Regions from separate parts of the Homo sapiens genome. Here regions 2, 3 and 4 are each linked to region 1. The links are contacts of gene promoters, found by promoter capture Hi-C in blood cells and fetal thymus (Javierre and others, 2016). All regions are on one chromosome and are shown on one strand. The core of a region is centred on a gene start or on the middle of the fragment in contact, and the rest is flanking DNA. Distances in the headings are between cores, read along the strand shown. Region 1 holds the start of SLC9A6 (solute carrier family 9 member A6). Region 2 has its middle 8.4 kb from the start of FHL1. Region 3 overlaps FHL1 (four and a half LIM domains 1). Region 4 has its middle 27 kb from the start of FHL1.

What was found. The method cuts DNA at HindIII sites, captures the fragments that hold promoters and counts their contacts. A CHiCAGO score of 5 or more calls a contact.
Region 2: a contact is called between a fragment that was not itself captured here and the fragment with the promoter of SLC9A6 in region 1, in 2 of 17 cell types (M2 macrophages and M1 macrophages). The highest score is 5.6, in M2 macrophages.
Region 3: a fragment that was not itself captured here is called in contact with the fragment with the promoter of SLC9A6 in region 1 in 5 of 17 cell types (naive CD4 T cells, M1 macrophages, M2 macrophages and 2 more); the score reaches 6.6 in naive CD4 T cells.
Region 4: a contact is called between a fragment that was not itself captured here and the fragment with the promoter of SLC9A6 in region 1, in 1 of 17 cell types (M2 macrophages). The highest score is 5.7, in M2 macrophages.

Annotation. Positions count from the first base shown.
Region 1 is chrX:135,982,715-135,987,766 of GRCh38, forward strand. SLC9A6 (solute carrier family 9 member A6) reads left to right here and starts at 2,721. Exons shown (of 18, transcript NM_001379110.1): 1 at 2,721-2,763; 2 at 2,889-3,113. The coding sequence starts at 2,945. RefSeq lists a silencer at 2,612-2,851 and an enhancer at 3,002-3,121. The HindIII fragment of the contact is 4,728 bases long and covers 1-4,259 here.
Region 2 is chrX:136,186,122-136,191,132 of GRCh38, forward strand. It overlaps a transcript of FHL1 not described here. Among named protein-coding and RNA genes, the nearest start is that of FHL1, 8.4 kb to the right of the region's middle. The HindIII fragment of the contact is 6,722 bases long and covers 1-5,011 here.
Region 3 is chrX:136,206,981-136,209,897 of GRCh38, forward strand. FHL1 (four and a half LIM domains 1) reads left to right here. Exons shown (of 6, transcript NM_001159699.2): 3 at 36-210; 4 at 812-981; 5 at 1,475-1,661; 6 at 2,891-2,917. Among named protein-coding and RNA genes, the nearest start is that of FHL1, 11 kb to the left of the region's middle. The HindIII fragment of the contact is 1,541 bases long and covers 898-2,438 here.
Region 4 is chrX:136,167,593-136,172,233 of GRCh38, forward strand. It overlaps a transcript of FHL1 not described here. Among named protein-coding and RNA genes, the nearest start is that of FHL1, 27 kb to the right of the region's middle. The HindIII fragment of the contact is 4,417 bases long and covers 1-3,550 here.

The sequences.
Region 1 (5,052 bases), core at 1,471-3,970:
TCTCCCGCCTTGGCCTCCCAAATTGCTGAGATCAAAGGCGTAAGCCACCATGCCTGGCCAATTAGCTTCTTAAGGGAGAAGGAAACACTTCTTCCACTGTGGCTGGGGGGAGAAAGAAAGGATGGGCACTGATGGGATATTTAAGTAGATAGCAGGGTAGGATTTTCCCAGAATGCCTTGACTTTCTCAGTGACAAAAGAAGCAAGGCTGGATTCCTGGTGAGTTGTCTATATGAGCAGTGAAGTCACTCAGGATGATGTCAGGCCTGGGGAGTGGGGTGAGAGGAGAGAGGAAGCCTGTGAAACAGATTCCCTAGTACTCAGCAAATGTGTAGGAGTGACCAGGAAGTCAATAAGTGAGGACCATGGGGAAGGAGAAGGTGTTAGAGCTTCAATGGAGGGTGGAGGGGTAATGAGTTTGAAACAATGTGAAACAATGGGAGTGAGCACAGTGCCAACTCCTTCAGGCCACCTGATGCAGGGTGTGAGTTGTGTATACGTGTGTATATGTGTGCAGGACAGTGGGGCTGTGACCAAATGAACATGAACAACCTCCACTTGCAATAGCGTCAGAGCGTGTGATATCCTGGGAGAGACATGGGTTCTGGTAATGAGAGGAGATGGAGGGGCCATCCATGCAGTGACTGAGAGGGTTGAGTAGTATGTTTACAAGGAAGAACGTTCCAAGGAGCACACCGACTAACATGGAAAGGGAGGGAAGTAGCAAGAGGAGAAACCCGGGTGTAGGCGTCAGAAGTATAGAGCAGTGCTGGATGGAGAGAGAAGTACATTCTCGGGGGAGCAGAAGCCTCAGGGGGATTGGCTGCCTGGTAGAAGTTACTACCATTTCAAGATTCCTCCTAGAACTCGAGTACAAAGAGATTGCTGAGGGGCATACTAAGTTGCTGGGGCCACATAAACAGAGGTGGAGTCTGGTGCTTGAAGACATTTCCTGACTCTGGTCAGGGAAGCAATCTGTGGCTTCGGGTTTTTTTTTTTTTTTTTCAAGTTCCCAACACTCAGTGAAAAGTGGGTTTATGCTGGGACAAAACAGCCTTGGAATGAGCAGTTAGCAGGTAAGCTCATTTACTAGGTCTTCTGGGGAGAGGATGATGGGGAGAATGGGAAGGATCCTCACCTAGGTTTCTTGCTTCCACAAAGCCCAGCTCTGTGTGAACAGGACAGTGTGGTTCAAGTGGAGTCAGGGTATAGGGGAACAGGCAGCCATGAGGTTTCTTGGGAAGACACAGACCCAAGTACTAATAGCAGAGAATGGGCACACAGTCACTGGCTCTGATTTGGGACAGTTCCTGACCTGACAGGGACAGAAAGTGGAATTGGACATCGTTTGAGTGCTTTTTTTGTTTAGCTCATCATCCTGAGAGCTTAGAGAGCTGGTTAGTGAGGGTGAATACACACAGGGGCAGCTTGGAGTTGCCTGAGTATTACTTGTTTTAGCAAGGAGGTTATATGGCCATGAGATGGAAAGAACCATTTGAGAATCATGAGTTCCAGGCAGAATGATAGGAATTGAACTGACAGTGGTACCACTGATGGTATGAAGAATTTGAGAAGGAATTTGTACTTGCAGGGGGAACTCATTTCAAATGAGCTCATTTCAAAATATTTTTAGTTTTGAGGGTGGTAGGAGCCTCAACAGGGTATGCTCAGAATCCAACAGGTAGAGGCCTGAAGTTGGGGCAGCAGGCCAGGGCTTGAGACTTGTAGATCATTCATGTTGAAATCAAAGTCTTGAGAAAACAAAGAGCCCACACAAACTAAGGAGCGATCGGAGAAATACAGAAAAAATAGGAAGTCACTGTTCTCAAAAGACAAAGCTCCAGTATGGAGGTGAGAACTGTGAAAATTCTGGTGAGAGAGGTTGGACAGGCTGAGAACAGAAAAAAAATACTGTCCTGAGGAATACTAAAGAGGAGAGATGAGAGATAGGGGTCAAGGGTGACTTCGGAGCTGGGGACATTTGCTTTAAAACAGCAGTAAAAAGGAGCAAGAGGAGAAGGAGAAATCCACCACACCACCCAAGATTTTTTCTTCGGGAGGGAAGTGTTTACGAGCATTGGGAAATCTAAGCACAAACCGATCCAATCTTTGCTGTAAGGTTGATGAGTTTCTGTGTACAGATTCCTAGCGTGAGAGATGACTTATATCAGATGTTTACATGTAAAGAAAACCGACTACACAGACACACACATAATCCATACCTTTGAGTCGATTGTTTTATGAACTGCTACAGTGCTCTGTGTGTGTGTGGTGTTTTTTTGTGTTTTTTTTTTTTTCTTTCCCGATGAGGACAATACAAGGAGAATCCGATTTAAATTTAAATTACAGAGATGGAGATTGAGGCTCCTCCCAAGGGGACAACTTATCCTGTTAAGAGACACTGGGGGACGATATTGAGATGGGTTATGAAAGATCAATTCCTATGAAAGATCAATTCCCCTGAGAGCTCTGAGAATAGGATCAAAGTAGAAAGCGCAGTCTGCCTCTGCTTGGTTACACTGAGCCGATGTTTCTTTAGCCAAAGGCAGTGGGCTAGTTTAGACGGCCTTTCATTCCCGGCAGCGCCTGTGGGTGCGTGTGACCTGGGACAGAGGGGCAAAGGAACCTGGCAGAGCGAGCTTGGGATGCCGCGGCCCCTTTAAGAGCGGCGGCGGCGGCGCGCGCTCCGACGGCTACCCCCGGGCCCCGCCCCTTTCCCGTGAGCCCTCGGGGAGTGGTCCGACCGCGGGCGGCCGCCGGTGAGGTAGGGGCGGGAGGCGGGGGGAGACATGGCTCGGCGCGGCTGGCGGCGGGCACCCCTCCGCCGTGGCGTCGGCAGCAGTCCCCGAGCCCGCAGGCTCATGCGGCCCCTTTGGTTGCTCCTCGCAGTGGGCGTCTTTGACTGGGCAGGGGCTTCGGACGGCGGCGGCGGAGAGGCTAGAGCCATGGACGAGGAGATCGTGTCCGAGAAGCAAGCCGAGGAGAGCCACCGGCAGGACAGCGCCAACCTGCTCATCTTCATCCTGCTGCTCACCCTCACCATTCTCACAATCTGGCTCTTCAAGCACCGCCGGGCCCGCTTCCTGCACGAAACCGGCCTGGCTATGATTTATGGCAAGTTCCTCAACCCTTGTCAGCCCCTTGGCGCTGCCCCTTTCTCTGCCCGCCGGCTGCTTCGCCTCCTCTGCTGGCCCTGCTCGGCCTACGTTCGGCTCCCCTTCTAATTCCTTCCATTTTCTGCCTCGCCTTCCCCCTACCCCGCGTTTCTCTGCCTCACCCCCTTTCCTCTTCAGCCTCGCGCCCCATTTTATCTGCCTCTCCACACCTTTTTCGCTTCCGACCCCACCCCCTTTTTCCTCCGCACCCCCAGCCCCCCACCCTTTCCCTGCCTACCAAGCTCGGGACCCGGGGCTGAGGATGGAAAACGAGTGGGCGCGGTGTCTGGAATTGGGCTGGGGGCTGGGGGAGGGGAGACACCATTGCGATCCATTTCTCTGGGGTGTCAGTTTGTTTAAGGTTCATTGAAACTGCAGTAGTATCTCTACTGCCCAGAATCTGGCGTTCTTTTGGAGCCAGAGTCGACCTTTACTCAACACCTAGCTCCTGCTACGCCCTGTCCTTTCGAGGTTGCAAAGGAAAATCTTATTCTTGTGGAGTCCGAAAAAAAAAACCCGAACGTGAAATAGGCTACAGAAGGCTTAGGGCATTTTTAATGACATCCCATTTATTGTACTATGCCTCTAATATCTGATATGGATACCTGTGGTTGACCCTTCCAATTCAGGCATACAAAAGTGAGGACGAGGAAGAGTTAAGGTCCTTCCAGAAGTATAGTGTACTATACGATGATCAGGACAGTTCAGACAAACAGTAATTACAAACACCATGCATATGCAGTATGGGTGACTTGCTGTTGGCATGAGGTTATTGACCGATTGTAGAATAAATGGCTTCGATTCTTGTGTCTCAGTCTGCTTTCTGAGGTTTATTATTATTATTATTATTATTATTTTGGTGACAAGGCGAGAAGGGGTAAATCAAAGTGTGGGCTCAGAGGCATTTTGAGCTGTGCTGGGGCCTCAAGAGGAGAAAAGATACATATTGCCGACTGTATTAATCTGTGCGGGTATTGCTAAAGAGATGAGGGCGGACAAACAATTCTTTCTGTGCAGTACATGTGTGAAGATTATCTTCATTTGGAGCAGTTAAACCGATGAGCTTGTTGAGGTTTGTCTCTCAGACTTGCAGATAGGTAGATGAAGCTTTGGCACAAAAGACATTGCTCCATGCAAACCCCCGCCCCCTAGTAAATCCAGACTTCTGTAATGTGCATCTCTCAAGGATAGCAAGGAAAGGTAGTTGTGTGCCTCAGGAAGATGCATGAACTCAGGCTTATTTTTCATTTTTAAGAGAATACAGTTCTGAGCCTGCGTGTAAAATATCTCTGCTCACTAAGATTCCTAGTTTTTAGACATATTAGATGGTTTTTATATTTAATATGTTTTGCATTTCATTTGCAGTGCACCTTAAGCCAAATTGGCCAGATAAGCTATATATTTCTATATAATTTTCTGCATAACAGTGTGTGATTTATTTACTATCCTCAACAAACATTTGTTGATAAACCTTCTATGTATTATGCTCAGAAAATACAAAGAGGTATAAGATCTTTGCCTTCAAGTCACTTATAGGCAGGTCATATAAAGAAAATAATGGCATCTTAAATTTGGTTAAATGCCAAATGAGTATTATAAAGTAATGAACTGATCAGAGATACTTCTTTTATAGAGAGAGATAGTATGATGTGGTAATTAAAGGTACAAGGCTTTAGACCAGAGGTCAGCAATTTTTTTTTTTTTCTGTAAAGGGCCAGGTAGTAATGATTGTTGATCTTGTGGATACGTAGATCTCTGTCGCTGTTGCATTTTTTTTCTTTGATTTTTTTTTCTTTTTATAAAGTTTTACAACATAAAAACTATTCTTAGCTCTCGGGCCATACAAAAACAGACCAAGGGCTGTAGTTTGCCAACCCCTGCTTTAGAATCAGACCTAG
Region 2 (5,011 bases), core at 1,057-3,556, 200 kb after region 1:
CCACTAATCCATCATGGTGTGGCACTGCATGAGGATATGTTGTGTGCATTGTCAGTATCGGCGTTTTGCTGAGTTTACTGTTTTTTAGTTCATTGGCAAGGCATCGTGGGTTTTGGTGCAAAGAGCATGGATTTGGAATCAAAAGCCACTTCCTCTCTGGGTGGCTGATTAGCTGAGGGTAACCTTCATATAGCTGGCATGGGATTTCCAGATGGCATCCTCTCTGCATGAACAAAAACAATGTGCCATTTCAGTAAACTTTGGTGGGTGCTCCCTCATCCACTCCAGATCTTTTCATCTCTTTCCTTTTATTCCCTCCCTTTCCTTGTAAATCAAAACTCCCATTCCTTTAGTGCTGCTGATCTCTTTTGGGGGTTAGAAGAAAGCAGTCTGATTAAACTAACTTACTACTGTTTTTAGTTGGTTCATCCTATCTTTAAAAAATGTATATATTTCAAGGCTGGGTGCAGTGGCTCACATCTGTACTACCCAGCACTTTGGGAGACCGAGGTGGGTGGGTCAGGAGTTCGAGAGCAGCCTGGCCAACATGGTGAAACTCTTTTCTCTACTAAAAGTACAAAAATTAGCTGGGCATGGTGGCACGCACCTTTAGTTCCAGCTACTCAGGAGGCTGAGGCAGGAGAATCGCTTGAGCCCGGGAGGCAGAGGTTGCAGTGAGCCGAGATCGCACCATTGCACTCCAGCCTGGGCGACAGAGCGAGACTCCATCTCAAAAAAAAAAAAATATATATATATATATAGATAGATAGATAGATAGATAGATAGATAGATAGATAGATTTCTTACAGCATTGTGATAACAAATATTTGTCAATAAGAGACTAACTGTGGTATAGCTTTACAATTGGATACTATGTACATGTTCAAAAAGTAGAAGCTCTTTACGTACTGACAAGGAAAATTCTCTGAATATAAATAAATAGAACTAGCAATAGAATTAATAGAAAAAGCAAGGTGCAGAGGAGTATGTATAGTATACCACTATTTATGTTTTTTTTTTTAAAAGAGGAAAAAGAAAAAATATATAGCTGCCTATCTTTTATAAGCCCAGTATCTCCAGAAGCATAAAGAAGACACTGGTATCATTGGTTATCAGTGGAGAGGGGGAAGTAGATGTCTGGGGATAGATAGGGGGAAGAATACTTTTCACTATGTATTCTTTCATACTTCTTCAAAAATACATCTTTGGAAATAAACCCATGCAAAAAAAAGAATGTTCACAGCAGTATTATAGTGGCTAAAAAGTGGAAATAACCCAAATGTCCATTACCTGATGAATGGTTGAACAATATGTGGTGTATCTGTACAATGGACTATTATTCAGCCATAAAGAGAACTGAAGTACTGATGCATGCTATAGCATGAATGAACCTCGAAAACATTATACTAAGGGAAAGAAATCTGCCACAAAAAGCTGCATATTGTGTGATTCCATTTTTATGAAAGCATTATGCTAAGTGAAAGAAATCAGCCACAGAAGGCCATATATTGTATGATTCCATTGCCAGAAGTGGCACATCCATAAAGACAGAAAGTAGGTTAGTGGTTCCCACGGGGTGGGGGTGGGGTATGCAGAGTGATGGCTAAGAGGTCCAGGATTTCTTTGGGGGTGATGAAAATGCAGAATCAGATGGTGGTAATGATTGATATACATTATGAATATACTAAAAGCTGCTGAATTGTACACTTTATAAAGGTGAATTTTATGATATATAAATTATTTTAAATTTTACTTAGAGATGGGGATCTCACTATGTTGCCCAGGCTAGTCTTGAACTCCTGGCTTCAAGCAATCCTTCTGCCTTGGCCTCCCAAAGCACAGGCATGTAAATTATATCTCAATAAATAAAATAACATAGCAAAACAACTTGAAGTCATGAACATGGAAACTTAAAGAATCACTGTGAACATATAAAACAAAAGTTTTCACCTAAGAAATGTTTTTATTCTAAAATATTTTACATATTATCTCTATAATGACAAAGGACTTCATGTTCTTTAGCTACCTTCACTCACACTCACCTGGAATTATTTCATTTTATAAGTGAAGATTGTTAACCCAAATGAAGCCCTGATTGATAAAATTTTGGGTAAAATAACTAAAGAAAGAATGTGTGATTATCTGGAATTGAGATGTTGTAGCTGCAGGCCTTGCCCAGGCTGTGCCAGTAGGAGAGGAGGTACGGAGCCTCAGAGAATCTTTTGGACCAGTGTGCCCTTTCTCTCCTCACAGCTCATCCCAGAGCTGTCCCTGCCTCCTTAGGCTGATATGCCCCTGTTCCCTTCCTTGTGTTCTCCTGCAGTGAGCTGAGGCACAGGGTTTAGGGAGCCTATTATGATAGGAGGAGATTAACTTTGGGGTTCTGGGATGAGATCTGTGGACCTGAAAATATAGCCTCTCTGATCCTAGTCACTAACTGCTCATGCATGGAGAGTGACAGCTAAGAGGTCCGGGGTTTCTTTTGGGTGGGGATGTGAGGTGCTGGGTCATTATGGACATACGGCAATGGTCTGTCTACACAATGGTCAGATAATAGTCTTCTTACAGTCATCCCAACTCTAGATGCTTTAGCCGGAGTTCATCTTGGGGTGGGTATGGGGGATTGACCACAACGTGTTTTTGGTCAAGAGTCGGGTAGATGGTGCATATTTTGGTTCTGCCACCCCTGGGACCTTGGGCATTGCTGTACTCACCCAAGCTATGTCTCGGCACAAACAGCCTCATCTCCTGAGCTGTAGAGTCATTTCTGTAAGTGGCTTGATGAGATAGGGTCTTTTAGATCCATGTCCTTGGCATTTATTCAGAATTAACTCACATAATATGATGCTAATCTGCATTCTGGCTGGAGCTGCATATAGGTAGCCTCTTTTCATTGTTGGCCTTTATAGCCAACTTAAGCTCAGAGATGTGAATCAAGGGTGGCCTGCCTGATGAATTAGTGCTTATAAGGTAAACCCTTATTTGTTGTGTTGGAAAGTTTATTGACTCTAGCCAGAAAAGGTCTAATTAGCCACTGGGCCCTTTCCTGGCAGGGAGGATGTAGGGAAGACCCTCTGCAGCTCAAGACTGGACAGGTGACCTAGACCTATTGGGTATTTATTTCATTAGAGGATCAATAGAGCAGAGATTTGTTCTCCCCAGGTCTCCATCATCTGTTCATAAACCCTCCTGACCCATGTTGAGTCCACAGCTGTCTCCACTGGGCTGTCAAGCTGCTGAGGCCAATTCCTCTGAGTCCCTAGGACTTTGAGTTTTGCTCTCTGCTGCCCCAGTCATTCTCAGGCCCATGGTCCTTGCAGCTGGGCTCTTGGCCAACATCCTGAGCCCTTATCTCTTTTCCACATATTCCCTGTGAATTAGTAAACTTGATAAATTCTATTTGTAGGAATCTGCTGCTTGGGTCGGCCACATTTTTAGCGTGTAGTTGAATTAATAATATATAGTGCTTACTGTGTGCCAGCCACTGCTCTAAATGTTGCAAATATTTACTGCTGTATTTCTCACAATGACCCTTTTACATAGGTACTATTATCATCCCCATTTTACAGATGGGCAAATTTAGTCACAGAGAAGTTAAGTGAAACTTGCCAATGTCATACAACCAGTAAGTGATAGAGGCAGGATTCGAATTTAGATATTCTGGCTTCAGTCTGTGCTCTTAGCCACTGCACTATATTCTCTTGAATCATTATAAAATAGATATACTAATCTCAGGGCAAATTTCCTACTATTTGTCTTGGAACTAACCATGTTAATTGTTCAACCAATCTCATATAAAGTTAAGCCTTAAATTTCTTTCATGGAAGCCTTCAAAAATAGTTATGGTCCAGTCTAAACCGTTTTACCTGAATTTCATTGAATGCAATAGGACAATCACTCCTTGTTTCACTCTCTGTACCTTAGATAATCTGGTCTTATTTATACCAGTTAGGTACCTACTTCCCATGTTTGTTCTTGTTGATTATCATTGGAAATGAGCAAGAAGGGTGGGGATGTGAGGTGAATGGGGTGTGATCTTTCCACGTACATGTCCTTTGATGGCTTCTGCTCCTCTAGCTGCAGACTCTCCTTGCGTTCTCCTTTCTGGACTTCGTGTTCCTGTCATTCTGTTTCATGTACTTGCTGCCTGGCATGGTGAACTTGTTGTTTGACTTCAAGGGCTTTGAAATCACTCACTCTTGTTCCTTAAGTGTCAGCTGTTTAGGTAGAGCCTCTGCTTCCGCATCCAACCTAGTCCATATCTCTCTCAGCTCTGCGTCAACTACTGCTTCCAAGTTAGCCAAAGTTTATCCATAAACTTTGTTTTTCTTTTTAAGTTTAATAGGGTTTAATTGAGCAAAGAACGATTCGCGAATCAGGCGGCCTCTCGAACCAGAGTAGGCTAAGAGACTCCAGCATTAACCATTAACTGTGGCTGAGATAACTTGACTGGACTCTTGCTGCTGCATGAGAGAATCTGCAAAATGTGTCATCTACACACACAACTGTCCCTTAGTCTCAGGGTCTGTGACCCAGCTTAACCTCTGTTGATGAATATAAAGTCAAGGGATAACAAACCCCCTTTACCATACATAGCATTCCTAAGGTTTACATTGTCATGAGTAAAGATCCCTTGCTAATACGGTACAAGGAATAGTGCCTTCGGAGTCCAGACACTCAGCTTCTAGACCTGGAGCAGCTGTTAACTCAGGGAAGCAGGTGATCTCTCCATCTCTGGGCCTCAGCTTTTCCATCTATAAAATGAGGTGATTGGATTAGGTGGTATCTAAGACCATTTCCAACTCTATCATGCCATTTTTATGAAGCTGGAGACACCCTCAGACCTGGCCCACTTTATCTTCAGGTCCGCCAATCCTCTCCAACTTGTGGAGGAGCCTATACTCTGTCCTTACCATGCACAGGTTGACGAACAGGGAAGACAAGCTGCCATTGAGGGTGGTAATCTAATGGCAGACCACACACCAACAGGATCACTCTGGTTCTGCAGCTG
Region 3 (2,917 bases), core at 418-2,917, 220 kb after region 1:
CTCATGGTGGCCCACCCTGTCTGCTTGGTTTCCAGGAGGTGCACTATAAGAACCGCTTCTGGCATGACACCTGCTTCCGCTGTGCCAAGTGCCTTCACCCCTTGGCCAATGAGACCTTTGTGGCCAAGGACAACAAGATCCTGTGCAACAAGTGCACCACTCGGGAGGACTCCCCCAAGTGCAAGGGGTGCTTCAAGGCCATTGTGGCAGGTACTGCCTCCTTCCCACCCCGGGTTCCCAGGGAGGAGGCCCTGAGGGCAGACGTGATGTGGGCTTGCTTATCATGGTGGGGCTAACGTTGCTCTGAGCTGCTTTGAGATCTTAGCATATATATGTACACATATACATACACGTATATATGCGTACACATATATGCTCGCACACACGCACACACTCGGAGACTAAAGAACACTGGCGAGAACAGCCTGTGGCAACAGAATGAAGTGAACAGTATGTAGCGCTTTCTCATTTGGGCGTAGTAAGTGATGAAAGCATGCTTCTTCCTCAGGGTGTCATTCTGGGCCAGGCAGTCCCTGATTTAATGTCTAAGTGCACGCAGGGTATAGAGGTGGGGGAGTGGGGGATTCAGGCACTGGATCCTAAAATAATAATGCTGGGGTCCCCACCCATGACAGAAATCCTGGGTTGGCACAAGCACAAGTAGAACACAGGTAGGTTAGTTGGAGGTGTGAGGCCAGTAACTGCAGGGCCTGCATCCCCTCACCTCTGGAGGGCCTGGGGAGGGGAGCTGAGTGGATGCAGCCCCCTGCAGAGCCTGTCAGTGGGGCTATCCAATTGCTTCCCTCTGCAGGAGATCAAAACGTGGAGTACAAGGGGACCGTCTGGCACAAAGACTGCTTCACCTGTAGTAACTGCAAGCAAGTCATCGGGACTGGAAGCTTCTTCCCTAAAGGGGAGGACTTCTACTGCGTGACTTGCCATGAGACCAAGTTTGCCAAGCATTGCGTGAAGTGCAACAAGGTATGCTTTCAAGGGAGTTCTGCATTGACCGTTGTTTCTAGAAGTGTTTGACAGTTTGCAGAGCACTTCCACACACACTATCCCATTCCATCCTCACGACAGCCCTGTGACGTAGGAATTATTATTCCCGTTTTACAGATGAGGAGATCGTGGATTAGGAAGCAGTGCCACAGCCAAGTCAGGCTGTCAGTACGCATCCTCAGCCTGGTGGTGCGGGTGGCCCGTATGGCATGCTGAGCTGGGCAGCCCTGGCTCTAGAAGCCTGCCTCCACCACTTAGGGGCTGTGTAACCTCACATAGGGGCTCACCTTCTCCGAGCCTTGGTGTCTTCATCTGTAAAGTGGGGATAATAATAGCCCCTGCCTCCCATGGCTGTTGTGGAGATTAAATGAGATATTGTATACCAAAGCGCCCAGCACAGTGCCTGGCACGCAGTAGGCATTCAACAAAATGGTTGTTGAATCTGAATCCGGTGCTACACTCCCTGGTCTAGGCCATCACATCTGGAGGAATCACTTACCAGGATCAGCCCTGGCATGCCGATTGCTTTGTGTGTGTTACCTGCTCTAAGAAGCTGGCTGGGCAGCGTTTCACCGCTGTGGAGGACCAGTATTACTGCGTGGATTGCTACAAGAACTTTGTGGCCAAGAAGTGTGCTGGATGCAAGAACCCCATCACTGGTAGGCTAAAGAGTCCTTGCTAAGTCTGCCAGGCTAGGTTTTGCGCATGGTAACCATCTCTCATTTTCCTGTCGTCGGTTTCATCCACAAAGGCCCCCAGAGAATGCCCTTCTCCCCCTGCTATTGTGGTCCCAAAGGCCCCCCAAGAGTTTGGATTCGTCCCCAGGCCAGGTTAGCCTTTGCAATACAGAACACTTCCTGACTGTTGACTAACAATGCTGAGAGTTCACAAGCCTGAGACCTGCCAGCCAACACCGGCAGGCACTGCCACTTTGCAGGGGGATTCTGGGGGGAGGGGTGGGAGGAGGGTAGAAAGAAGGGGGTGGGGGAGGGTGGGGAAGGGGTAAGGGAGGCCGAAGAGTGATAACCCGGGATTGTAATACCCCATAGCTGAAGGCTAGTTCAGAGATGCCTGTTGGCAGGGTTTCTTTTTTTTTTGGTTTGCTGTTTATTTGTTTTTGCGATCAGCAAAGCTAATCACTTCATTCCTCATCTCGCGGCCGCGATCCACGTGCCCTGGGCCCTTTCCCTTGCCTCCAATTTTCCCATCTTCCCGGGGAGCCTTGAAATGTACATTTGAGAAGACTTTTGCCATCCTCAGGGAAAAGGACTGTGTCAAGAGTGAGCCACCCAGTCTCTAAAGCTAGGAAGCCCCCAGTGTGCCACGGGAAACGCTTGCCTCTCACCCTGTTTCCCAGCGCCAACCTCCGGGGCAGGCATCCGGGTGGAGAGAGGACTTGTCCCTCGTGGGTGGTGGTTCTTTATAGAAAAAATCGAAGCTTAGCAGCTCCTCGAGGCCCGGTAAGTGCACACCCCACGAACAGCCCAAGTTTGCCTCCTGGTGGCCACTTTGATGTCATGGCCCTGACCTAAATCAAAGAAACTGGTTATGCTGGGAGGTCGGTGCGCGTCACAGGGCAATAGCGTGGTGGCATGGGAACGTGGGGTCTTTACATCAGGGAAGCCCTTGGCCGGGCTTCAGCATCTTCTCAGGTCCTTGAGAGCCACAGCAGGGTTGCGGCGGCATGGGGGACAATGGCGGCGTGGGGGACTGTGCACGATGGAGTGGAGGAGGGGGTCTGGGAGCCAGGCAGACCTGGCTCTTGCGTGCTTGTCGGTCTGTGAGTGGGGCAGGTCGTCATTTTATCTCTCTGAATCGTGGTTTCCTCACCTGTATTCATTCAGCTGTTTCTCTTGTTTTCTTTTCTTTTCTTTTTTTTTCCCCCCAGGGTTTGGTAAAGGCTCCAGTGTGGTGG
Region 4 (4,641 bases), core at 92-2,591, 180 kb after region 1:
ATGATAGAATATGAAAATGTTTTCTGGAAAGAATAGCCAGAGTCCCAGTCTGGTTACTAGAAGACACTTTCCCTGTCCTTTCCCCACCTGTAGCCCTTCCAAGCTGGAATGTGCAGAGGTGAGGAACAGACAGAGAGATGGCAGGGAAGCTATTGGCAAGGTGGGAATCTTAGGAAGGAAGTGATTCCGGTTCTTGAAAAAGAGAACCGGATTCCGTCAAGTAGAATCGGTATGAATTGTACCCATCTCTAGGAAACATCAATTCCAGAAGGGTGAATTAGATGAAATATGATAAGACTAGTGTGTGACAGATTCAGGTTTGACGCTTCAGTTGGATTGAATCGAAAGAGAGGTATATTTGGTATCAGGCGTTTGTGGTGGCATGTGAAATCATTATCCACGTTTGATAACAGTTTGACTTTTTGCCTGCTGTAATAATAGTAGTAAGTATGTATTTAACATTCAATGGGTACCTTGTGTGGGGGAGGCCCTGCTAAATGCTTTACATGGACGTACGTCCTTACCTCTATGAGGTAGGTGGCCATTATGATGCTCATAGAGGCTGGACAGCTAATATGAGGCGGAGCCGGTATTTGAGCTCAGGCAGTCTGACTCTGGTGCCCCTGCTGTGAAGAGCTGTGCCCTGCTGCATTCCTCCTGTAGCTGCACGAAAGGGTGTGGAATCTTCTAGAAGCAGTGAGTTCTATATGAGTGGAGTGTGGTGGTGGGAGATGAGATGGAGTAAAGCCTTTGGTGTAAACATACCATGCTAAATACTAGGAGATAGAAATGAAATAAGAAATATTTCTTCCTGACACCAAGATACTTAACATTTTACCGGACAAAGAAAACCTAACATGAAACAATCCAGATTCATATGATAGAATATGAAGATACTGTCTCTACTTAAGTACAGGTGGGAGGAAGACTGGAAGATGTTCCTTTGAATTAAGTCACTTTAAAACATTTGCTTTCAAATGTTAGCGCTTCACCATGGGCACAAAATTTGTCTTCCTCCAGGCTTTTGGCCTGGCAAACAAGAACCCTGTCCCTATAGTCAGCAGATTCATCCATTTTGAGTTGGGAAGCATTATCTTCAGCCTTTTCTTCCTGACAACGATCCTGACAATCGTCGTCAGGATCTCTAAAGAGATGAACTCATTAGCCTAGTGAACCAACAGTCTCAGCTGTTTATTTACCAGCACATTAACAGTTTTTCCATTTATATCCACTGCCTGTGTGACGATCAGCCTGGAAATGGTTTGAGCATAGGGTGGGAGGGGTGGTTACACACCTGGTTGTAATCCTTGGTTTATTTTTGCCCTGTTTCCATCTATACTTCTTGAGAGCTTCCTGTGTTACAGGCACTGACCTGGGTGTTGGGGCAGAGTAGTGAAAAAACAGACTGGGTCCCCCGCCCAAGGCACTGTCTTTTCCTCAGATTTCATTCGCTCATGTACATTTTCATAGTTGATCTAAAAGCGGCATTTGGTGTGAATTCTAGGATTTCACACTTTTAGGATAATACAGTGATCACACTCCCTTTCTCCTTTGCCCCAGCCAGTCCTTTCTGAATAAAGGTCGAGGGATTGGGGGAGGAAGGCAGTGATGCGAATGGGCCTGTGGGGAGGTCGCACGGGCTTGAGGAGGGCAGCATGTCGTAGCGGGCCATATTTGTGTCAGGGTTGGGAACGGCACAAGGCACACCTGTTTCCTAGTGCTGCAGAACCCTCGTCCTGGGATGAGCCTGCCCGCTAGTCTGCATCCTAATCCTGCTGTTGATTGGAGATAACTTCAGCGGTCACAGGGCACCTCGTCTCCATGGCAACCCCTCTAAATATTCCTCTAGTGACTTGTGCTCTACATTCTGGCTGGATCAGAGCCCTCCTGTGGCAAAATATTCTAAAGATGTTAAAAGAGAGAGAGAGAAAAAAAAAGGCTCAACTAATAAATCTATTCTAAACGACTGAGTCATTTGTTTTGATTACCCGGGTGATTGCCAAATGTTAATTTAAAACTGAAATAGGCCATGAGCTCACTCCCCTAACAATGCTGAGTGTTTGAGCTAATACGGCTTGATAATGAGGGAGCCAGATCCACTGCCAGTGCTCATGTTATATGATAAACAGACATTTGGAGAAGTATGCAGAACATCTTGGCAGTTTTCCTTTAACTCTAAGGGTTGTAAATACAAAGTAGAATGTGTTACCATGAGCCATTTCATAGGAAGTTGACTTTATTTTTTTAGAATTCAGAACTTTGCTTCTAAAAAGGTAACTTTGCCTCTTGATTCTCATTTTTTTCCCTAACTTAGGCACCTTGGAAGTTGTTTTCAACCATATCCAGCCTTTGCCGAATACATCCTATCTGCCACACATCCAGCGTGAGGTAAGTTTTACTAATTGCCACAAATTCTTACACTGATCTCCAACCTTCTAAGTTGTGGTATTAGGGGCGGCATTGTACAAAGGGCTTTATTTGTACCAGGAGGTTTCAGAAGGTTCATTTTAATTGACTCAACCAATGTCACTGCTTACCCTAAATATTAGCTCTCGGGGGCAATGTCTTTTCAAGGGAAAATCTCATTTGCTTTCAACTTGGGCATATGAAAAGGGAATTTGCCAGGCACAACAGAACTATTTGAATGTCTGCTTTAAAGTAAAGATCTGCTCATGTCGTTGCACGAACAGTAGGGAGCAGGAAAGCTGCATGGAGCAAATGCTGGGATGGGACAGAGGAGACTCCTGCTGCCAGCCACGAGAAGGTTAGGCTGACCTGATCAGCTATTAGGAATCTTTCTCCCTGGGTGGAAGGAGCCAAGGTGCAGGACTGGCATTGCAAAATCTGGTGATAGAAGGCCAAAGAGTGCTTCTGCTCGGTGACATTAATAGGGTCCAGGAGATTTTCTTCTGATTTGCCCTCAAGTTCAGAACAACCTGTGGGAAGCCAGTGTAAGAATGCTTATACTGGATAAGCGTTCTCTGTCCTCTTCATTTAGCCACAGTGGCTTGTTTATACTCTGTGATGACTCAGGGTTCCTCAATTTTCTCTTTGAGAGAGGGACATTGACCTTTGAAAATAATGAAGGAATCTAAGAGAAGGCTCATCCAGGCACGATACAGTAATGGTCCCTCCTTTTTGGTGCCCCGGTCTCTGTGCGCTCACAAGAGGGAATGTAACCTTTGCCAGCACCATACCTGTCAGGCTTTGCCATTTCATCCCTCAAAAGGTTGCTGCGTTTTTGCCTTCACCTTCACCCTGCCCACCCCTGCATGCAGCCACATGGTCAGTGTAGGTACTTAGATTTCAGTTAGGGTACATGCTCAGCAGGTGACAAGAATTGCCTTTGTTATGTCTACTTGCTACAGAATTCTCCCCAGGTTTTAAAATATATATCTTCAAATACCTAAATGTATTAAACCTTAAAGAGTAAAAAGCATAGGACAAACTTTTAGAAATGCTAAACCTGAATTTTATCCATTTCATCAATTATGGTGGTAGTCGGAAGTCCTTCCAAGGCCCTCGGGCTTGAAGCAAGCTCGGTGATACAAGCTTTCAGCAGCTTCCCTCTGCTGCTGGAGATGGAATCTTCATTTCTGGGTCTAAATCCTGCCATAGCTCTCATTCATAGCCTTTACCTATAATGGTTGTTTTCAAACTTAAAAAAAATGATAGAAACCTATCTTCAAAAAATACAAATCTTTAGATCTAACCCCAATAGAGAAAACCAAAGCTGAACTGCTTTGGCTCAAGTAGGAGGCTGTGACTCTCTGTCACCCTCCTCTAAGGGTGAACCCTATTGAAAGAGCAGAGATTTTAGCTCTGTGCCCTTTCCCAGCTCTTATTTTTATTTTCCCACAGAAGAGGCTAGATTCTTTAAGGAGATATAAAGAAGGGAGAGAGAAAGATATAAAGATTCTTTAAGGAGATACAAAGACATCCTCTCATCAGCTGGAAATGCCAGCTAGGTGAGACCTGACTATGCATATGCATTGTTTGCCCTTAGTAATTCCATAGCAATCTGCAAATTCAATCAGCTTCATCAGCAGAAAACTTTGATAGAAACCATGTGTAAAAGGGCTGTGTTCTTAAAGTGGAACATTTAAATCGAAGTTTTTCAAGCACACATTTCAAGTGGTTTTATGATACCAAGCACACCCCAGTGACATCTTTACATTGACCAAAACTTGGTATCCTTGGGTTTTCTTTTAAAGCACTGAGTTTCTCAGGTGTGTCAGTTGAATAGAATCTGCTAAATTCTGTTTTTTTTATTTTTTTAAATTTTTTATTGATTTATTTTTTTTTATGGAGTCTTGCTTTGTCGCTCAGGCTGGAGTGCAGTGGTGCAAGTGCAGTGGTGCGATCTGGCTCAGTGCAACCTCCGTCTCCCAGGTTCAAGCAATTCTCCTGCCTCAGCCTCCCAAATACCTGGGATTACAAGCGTCTCTACATCAACATGCCTGGCTAATTTTTGTAATTTTAGTAGAGACAGGGTTTCATCATGTTGGCTAGGCTGGTCTCAAACTCCTGGCCTCAAGCGATCCGCCCTCCTTGGCCTCCCAAAGTGCTGGGATTACAGGCGTGAGCCACTGCGCCCGGCCAAATCTGTTAAATTCTGTTTCCATGTAACAGAAATATATA